3 separate regions of the Homo sapiens genome follow, and all the other regions are linked to region 3. The links are contacts of gene promoters, found by promoter capture Hi-C in blood cells and fetal thymus (Javierre and others, 2016). All regions are on one chromosome and are shown on one strand. The core of a region is centred on a gene start or on the middle of the fragment in contact, and the rest is flanking DNA. Distances in the headings are between cores, read along the strand shown. Region 1 has its middle 23 kb from the start of LINC02767. Region 2 overlaps CD46 (CD46 molecule). Region 3 holds the start of CD34 (CD34 molecule).

What was found. Contacts are between HindIII fragments. The CHiCAGO score rates a contact against its expected background, and 5 or more counts as called.
Region 1: a contact is called between a fragment that was not itself captured here and the fragment with the promoter of CD34 in region 3, in 1 of 17 cell types (M1 macrophages). The highest score is 5.5, in M1 macrophages.
Region 2: a fragment that was not itself captured here is called in contact with the fragment with the promoter of CD34 in region 3 in 1 of 17 cell types (naive B cells); the score reaches 6.6 in naive B cells.

Annotation. Positions count from the first base shown.
Region 1 is chr1:207,980,775-207,983,474 of GRCh38, forward strand. No RefSeq gene overlaps it. Among named protein-coding and RNA genes, the nearest start is that of LINC02767, 23 kb to the left of the region's middle. The HindIII fragment of the contact is 180 bases long and covers 1,342-1,521 here.
Region 2 is chr1:207,785,952-207,788,651 of GRCh38, forward strand. All of the region lies in intron 11 of CD46 (CD46 molecule), which reads left to right. Among named protein-coding and RNA genes, the nearest start is that of MIR29C, 15 kb to the right of the region's middle. The HindIII fragment of the contact is 1,381 bases long and covers 756-2,136 here.
Region 3 is chr1:207,909,798-207,912,497 of GRCh38, forward strand. It overlaps CD34 (CD34 molecule), which reads right to left and starts at 1,328. Exons shown (of 8, transcript NM_001025109.2): 1 at 1,205-1,328. The coding sequence starts at 1,283. It overlaps LOC107985253 (a long non-coding RNA gene), which reads left to right and starts at 571. Exons shown (of 4, transcript XR_001738424.2): 1 at 571-760; 2 at 858-1,041. The HindIII fragment of the contact is 7,449 bases long and covers 1-2,700 here.

The DNA.
Region 1 (2,700 bases), core at 182-2,681, 71 kb after region 3:
TTATCCCTTCTGTTTGTTTCAAATCATTCATATACAATATTTCTATTTGTTTCCTTTTTATAATTTATTCTACCTGTTCCATATTTTAGTATCTTCTCTTCTGTTGGGAATATTTATTATGCTTGTTTAAAATCTTGGTGTATCTGTCTCAATTATCCTGGTTCACAGGATGCGTATTGTTCAGTTTGTTGCCTTTCTTTTAAAGTGGTTTTATTCCTTGAGGTCAAATTAATTTGGCCCGTAAACTTATGTTCCCTTGGGGCTGTCAGTTATTCTGCGCAGTACTGTGTAGTGAAGGAGCATCTGAAATCTTAGTCTATTACTTCCTGCTGAATTTAAATAAGAGGGGAGGGAATGAGCTCCAAGCCAGAGAGCCCCTGGTTCCACAGAAACCCTCTTGATATGTTCCAGCAACCTGCTATCCCCCTTCCCAATTTAGGATCCCTTTTAGATGCTACTTTCTTACTGTGCAACCCCTCTGTCCAGTATTTTCCTTTCAAAGAAGCAGACTTGGGAGGTGGCCATCCCTTTAGTAGATCCAGCAGGCTTCAGGGTTAAAGGGGCAGCAGAGGATGTAGGATGGATGAACGAATGCCCAAGGGCAGACAGAAGTCCATTTCTGGTCCCATTAGCTCTTATCCTAATAGGGTTTTTGGTTTTCTCTGATTATATTCTTGGAATCTCTGAGGACTTGGTTATGATGCTGCTTGTTCTAGGTAGACAATGGTCACCTTGTGTGTGTGTGTGTGTGTGTGTGCATGTGTGTGTAGAGGGGGTACAAGACCACAACTTTGGAGCAACTAATATCCCACTGGGGCTTCTCCCTTTTCTATTCCCATTCATCCACCCACCCGTCTCCTTCACACACACTGGATCTCTGTCTTCAGAAGCCTTTGGTCTTCCTGGAATTTCTCACTGTTTTATCTTTGGATCATCAGATCCATGGTATATTTTCTCTGCTGTGGTTTCCCCAAGATTAATTTTGGAGGTGGGAGCCAGTAGCCTATGCTCATTGGCCATCTTGTCAGAAAACAATGACTCATTCTTTTGGGGGGTAAATGCTCAGTCTTCGAAATGTCTTCTCCCTCTCCCTGGTCCTCTTCATTGTGATAGTGAGTTTACAAGACCTTGTGCAGCTGTGGAGAGAAGGATATCTTGAATTTACATCATTTCAAATTGCCCAGCTTTCTCCTGCAGAATGGCTGATCTGGGCTTGTGCTCAGCCTCATGACCCCTGGAGGTTTGGCTGTTTGGGGGATTATGCTGGCACCACTGTCAGAGTTTATGGTCTGGTCTGTGACTCTAGATGGGAAGCAGCTAGAGCCCTTTCATCAGACATCAAGCTTCAGCTGGTCCATGGCCCACCAGGCACCAGGGCATGGGGTGGTCCTATACCGCCCCTGCAGGCCATCAATAGATGTAGCAGGGAAACAAGAGCACAGCCTCATGCTTGCCCAATGGTTGCTTGTATGCTCTGTGCCATGTCGGATGTGCCTGTGTGCTGGACTTCTGTTAGGCTGAAGCTTCCAGCCTCCCCTAACCTACACCTGACAGTGTAGTGCCATCCTTCTAATATTCTTGATTGCCCCACATTTATATAGATGCTTCCACAGTGTTTCCCTTAACTAAAACCTGTAGAGTTCTGTACAAACTTCTGTTACGACCTCTCTCCCTTTGCATCGTAAGTATTTATGTTTCTGTCTCCCCAGCTAGAGAGTGAGCTCCCTTAGGGGGGAAACTGTGTAATATTTTTCCTTGCACTTCTCAGCATCTGGCCTAGGGCTTGGCATAAAATAAGCACCAGGTAAATGTGTGTTGAACCAAACTGAATAATACAAACTAAAAACAGATAAGTGCTTTAAAAGAAGTGTTTGGGGGAGAAAGGCTTTATTTATGGTTTGGGGATATGGAATGGTTTCTTAAGAAGGTAATAGTGGAGGGTTTAGACTGATGGAAAGAGAACATTCAGGGTGAGGGGAACACTGTGAGCAAAGGCACAAAGATGGGAAAGCGCAGGATGTTCATTTGTTCCCTTTCAGGGCAGGAATTATTCCTTGGGCATCTTTGCAAACTCTCTGAATAGTTCCTTGAACGTAAGTGGTGCTAAGAATAAACTGCGCCGAGTGGAATAAAATCCCCATCTTCTCCTGCATCCCTCAGAAGTGGGGGTGCCCAGTGGTCATAGAAGACATTAAATCAGAAAGAAACAGGTCTTTCTTTGGTACAGACACATCCAAGATTATAATATTACACACCCTATATAGTCAAGGTTGCTGCAGGAAAGAAATGACATACTCAGACAAGTCCATTGAGGATAATTTAAGGGAGTGCTATTTACAAAGGTGTGGCTATTAAAGGAAACCAACAAGTGGGGTAAGGCACCTTGGCGAGAGCAAAGTTCCATCCCTGGGCATGCTGGGACCAGGGAAGGAGGAGTTACTCTGCATGAGACCGGGGCTGTCCAACCCTTAGATGCATTGCCAAACTGTGTGTGCATGTGTGTGTGCACGTGTGTGTGCATGTGTGTGTGCACGCATGTGTACACATGCATGCATGCAGCAGGGTGATCAGCCCTCTCATCTTCTTCCTCTGGAGTCTCCTGGAAGACCCAGTTGGAAGCCTCCAGGAGCACAGAGCAGGGTGGGGAAGGGAGGAGAGGAGATTGGCAGATGCAGAATATCTAGTACACACCCAAAGTCT
Region 2 (2,700 bases), core at 196-2,695, 120 kb before region 3:
TTTAGCAAATCATGGACCACTCACTATGAGGCCTTCTCTACCCTATTCCCTATTTCCAAAATTGCACTAATGGCCAAAATTAAATTTAAAGTATTTCACTGTGGAGACTTTGACAGTTGTATTCACTGGAATTTTTATAATGAAAGTTTCCACTTGTCTATATAGCTTAGCTAGTTGCAAGAAGCTATGTAGGCATATCATTTAAATACCCAATTTGGTGTCTTTTCATTTAAAGTTGTTATTTATACATGTTAAACTGGGGGATTCAAAACAACACTATCCGATTTCCCTCTTATGTTCTCTGAATTTACCAGATTGCAGTAAAACTGATAGGGTTAAAGTTAAAATTGCTGAGAGGGGTTAGATCTATAAGGTACCTCAATTAACTGTGTCTTTTAATATATAAAAATGTAAAAAGTGAGTGGGTTTAGAATAGAAGAAAAATGTACAAGTACATATCTTCTAAAGAAAATAGGGTTTTAAAACATCAAACTCAAATTTTAGTTAAAGAGCTTACAGTTTAACAAAAGACTTAGAATGAATCCTGGAACACAGACTAAGATTAGGTGCTTTGAAATTTCTGAAAGATAATATACATTCATTTTTACTGATTTTTAAAAACTGTTTTCCCCTATAGTTTTAGAAATAGCTTTGAAATCAAACCTAATAATTTTAAGACTTTTGGTACTCATGGTTTTATGATATATATTCCTTTTATACTGATCATCAGGTTTGGGCTAAGTCATAAAAGTACAAGCTTTACTCATAAGGAACTCAAACTTTTTTCATATTACTTGGTTATCTTTTGAAATACCCATAATCCCTTCACTTGAATCTTAAATCTTGTATTAATGGAACACGATATGCATATTTGATTTATCTATCAGTTGTATATTCTAAAAGTTACATATCTACAACGTGAGTACAAAATATTATCAATGGAATATTTTTACAAATCCATAAGGTTTGCGTAGAAACAAGTTCTAAAGAAAACAAAACAAAGTCGCATTCTGCTTATTTTCCTTCTTTGTTTAAAATATCACTGCATCAGAATTTTTAAAGGTTCATTAACAAGTATTAATCAAACTCTCTCTAGCTAGCAGTTAATGGTTTTTCTGTTGTTGTTTTTTGCTTTTTTGTGATGGAGTCTTGCTCTGTCACCCAGGCTGGAGTGCAATGGCGCAATCTTGGCTCGCTGCAACCTTGGCCTCCTGGGTTCAAGGGATTCTCTGCCTCAGCCTCACGAGTAGCTGGGATTACAGTCGTGCACCACCACCACCGGCTAATTTGTTGTACCTGTACTAGAGATGGGGTTTCACCATGTTGGTCAGGCTGGTCTTGAACTCCTGACCTCAGGTAATCCGCCCACCTCGGCCTCCCAAGGTGCTAGGATTACAGGCATGAGCCACCGCGCCCGGCCTTAATGGGTCTTTTAAAGCTCAACAGTTATCTGACTGTTACACTCCCAAATGAAAGGTTCAATAGCAGTAGTGAACTGAGATTCCAAAATTAATTTGTCCAGTGATTTTTTTTTAAAGCCCATATTTTACAGCATAGGGTCCAACTGACAGTTGCCATTATTAAAATTTTAAAATATTTTGGGAAGGTATGATATCTTTAGCCAATGCAACATAATTAATCCTGCAAATAGTAGCACAACTTGAGGAAAAATAGTCCAGAAAATGGTGTGAGAGACGAAACTCCTAATTGCCTTTGAACTTTAAAATATAAACTGCGTGGGAATCTTTTAGAATAGATGTTACCCTTTTTATGACAGGAACATACTCGATTGGAAATTCAGCATATGTAATGGCTGAATCCAAAGCTAGGCTCTCTTTATGGATCTATTATTTTGTAGTTCCATGTTATTTTGATAGCTGAACTGAATGTGAGGGTGGTTTATCTTTCTTCTTCAGAGTCTAGAGGAATGTTTCTCTGACTTTAATGTGCACATTAGTCACCTGGAAATCTGTTAAAGTACAGATTCTGATTCATTGGGTTTGGGGTGGAGCCTGAGACCCTGCCTGTCTAGTGAGCTCCCAGTGCTGATGCTGCTGCTGTGCCTGGGCTACACTGACCAGGGTGTTGCCCACTACTGATGTGCCTATATTGTTGAAGTCTGAAGAAACACTATGAAGCTTATTGGCAAATTTTTCTAATATTTAAGATAATTGAAGTTTTTAAGATTCCTCATCCATGTGTATCCTTAAAAAAAGGCTATGGGGTAATAAATAGTACTTGGCTTTTCTTACCTTCTTTAACTCTTAAAAAACAAAGATTTCCAGCCGGGCCTGGTGGCTCACGCCTGTAATCCCAGCACTTTGGGAGGCCGAGGCGGGCAGATCACGAGGTCAGGAGATCAAGACCATCCTGGCTAACACGGTGAAACCCCGTCTCTACTAAAAATACAAAAAAAAAAAAAAAAAAATAGTGGCGGGCGCCTGTAGTCCCAGCTACTCTGGGAGGCTGAGGCAGGAGAATGGCGTGAACCCCGGAGGCGGAGCTTGCAGTGAGCGAGATTGCGCCACTGCACTCCAGCCTGGGTGACGGAGTGAGACTCCATCTCAAAAACAAAAAACACAAAAAAACCCCAAAGATTTCCATTATTTTCTTTGCACTGTTTAATGTCCATAATCTTGTCCCCCCAGATTGGCTGTTGTGGCCTTAGAAACTTCTTATAAAGACTATAAAATGTCTGGA
Region 3 (2,700 bases), core at 78-2,577:
CAGGACTGCCAAACAGGGCAACCCAAAACTTCTCTCAGAGCTTCCTCCAGCCCAGGGGCAGCTGTCCCCAGCTGGGCGGACCCAAAGATGGACAACAGAGGAGACTGGGAACAAAGAGGTCTAGTCCAGGTCACTCTGCAGGGCCACAGTGGGTGGCCCTTAGGATGTAGTGAGAGTACAGAATTGGGAGCCCTAGAGTGCTGTAAGCAAAAGGGAGAGCAATGTACAAAGTTTCAAAAGTTTCAAACCTTCCAAGTGCAAAGAGATGAGGTGGAGAATGTCATTCCCCAAGGAAAGTAATCGAGTATAAATATTTACCGGGTGCCTATTTTTTTTTTAACCGAAGTGAGAGCAAGACCTTAAGAGTAAGGATATGTGTAGGTGAGTGGGGGCAGTGTTCTAACCCATCCACTAGCTTTAGAACTTGGAGCAGGGGCAGAGGAAGAAAACTCCAAAAGGTGACAAGTTTTGAAATTTGTGCAGGGGTGACGGTTTTTGGTAAGGCGAGCGAGGCTGGGCGCAGAGCAAATTCTGTCTACTTCTACCTCCTCCGCGGTGGGGTTGCTGAAGTGGGAATTCAAACTCAGCTTCCCAATCTTAAATGCAAGGTTTTTGTTTGGTTGGTTGTTTGGTTTTGTTTTTCCTTTTCACGGACTGTTCATTCCGAACACCCCTGGCCTGGGACCTGGAGCCTCATCCCTGATTCGCTTCCCTCGAATTCCTTAATGTCCACTTCTGGCTCTCCCAGTCCCTGTGCAAGGTGGGCACACCGGCCCCTTCCCAGCAATCCGCTCCGTGTCTATACTTTCTGAATCAACCAAGAGCCACAAAACTTTTCCTGCTTCTCTCCTCCCCAGTCTCCCGGTTCTGGCTGCAACTTCGCACTCCGCGCCTCTGGCAACCAGAAGAGACCCTGGCATCTCCAAAGCGCTTTATCTCAGTCCATTGGAACCAGTCGTGCTGACCGATTCACACCTCGGCTAACGCACACTCGCGGGGGTGATGGCCTTCCCTTCCCCTCCCACCCCCGTCAGCTCCCAGGTGAGGCGCTGGCCCCGGGGGGAAGCAGCTGTGGGCGGCAGTGCGTGGGTTGGGCAGGGGTCCCTTCCCTCCGTGAGACTCTGCTCTGCTGTTCAGCCTCCCAGAAAGCCTCCACCCTCCCCGCGGCGAAGCCAAGCGGCCGCGGCGCGCGGGCGGTACTCACGCAGCAAACTCAGCAAGCAAAGCGCGGTCCAGCCCCGCGGCATCCTGGGCCCTGCGCGCGCGCCCCTGCGGACCAGCATCCTTCCCGCGCGGCTCCTAGAGAGACGCACCGAGTGGAAGACACTACTCGGCTTGGCCAGGACGCGCTCTTCCCGCCCCCTCCGCCCGGGAGAGGGGTGGGGGATTCTTGCTTTTTTCCTCTCTTCTCCCCTCCCTTTTTAGTCTTGGCAAGGCAGCGCCTCTCCTTGGCTGCTACTAACTTGAGCTCCCCTGGTTGGTCCCAAAGGCGGAGGGCGTTAGGAGGGAGGCTGGGTTGCCGCCGTCGAGGCCAAAAAAGGTGGAGGTTTGTTCGGGCTCCAGATGCCTCGTTCAGCTTTCTGGAGAGGCCCCATCCCACTTCTTCAAGCTCCACTTCCACTTAACTTTTAACCCCTTTGTGGCAGCCTTGCCGGTGGCCAGGGCAGGGGCAAGTTTCCTCCGATTTTTTCCCCACTTTTCTTTCCTTGTGATTTTCCTTTATTTTTAAGTTGTAAGCCAGTAACAATCTTGCAAAAGGAATCTACTGTAAGGACCTCAGTTTAGAAGTGTGAGCATTTCGTTAATCAGGTAAAACTTAACCACAATGTGGCACATTTAGTGATAGCCTCACCAGATCCTGTGCTGTGTGTGAGTGAAGCGTCAGGAGTGAGCAGGTATACGTGACTATAAGTATTCATTTTGGCTGTCCAAACCATTCTTGGAGACTTTTTCTTTCTTTTCTTTTCTTTTTTTTTTCCTGCAAGACCTTTTTGTGTTATGTTAACTTTTTGCTAACTTGTGTTAACTTTTCCTGTGACCTTCCATATTTCCCCATTTAGTTCCCCATCACCATCATCCTAAAGAAAAAGGACTTCCCTGGATGCCTTCTCACCAGTTATCCCCTCTCCAGCCCTGGGTCTAAGCCACTAGGGATTTCACCTTGCTCTCCCATCAGAAAAAGGACTTTCTGTGACTCCATCCTCCACCACTTGATAGATCCTTGAGCTTCCTGTTCCTCACCAGTTCCTCTGGGTGTTGGTTGTACTGAATAGAAGAAACTCTGAGCCGGGTAGGCAGCCTAGTCTTGGGGACGTAGAGACGGGAGAAAGGAGAAGCCAGCCTGGGCAGATGATGGCACCAGGGGAGGATCAGATAAGGTATAACCTGGGAGAGGCTGCTCTGATATCCAGAGCAGAATCATGAAATTATAAATACTCAGTTCAGGCTCTTCCATGATGTCTGTACCACATAGCCTAAAGGGAAAAAAGAGAAGCCAGACCAGCACTCTGTGGTCCTTTCTGATTTCTCCGCAGACACTCTAGCATTATAAAAGTAGCTTTACCTTTATAGTCCATCTCAAACCTACTATGCGTTGGGGTTGCACAGGAGAAGGATCCAGGTCTAAAAACAAACCCAAAATCTCCTTATTCTGGTCTTGTTGCCTAGCATTCCTTTAAACAGGGAACAAAGTCTTTCATC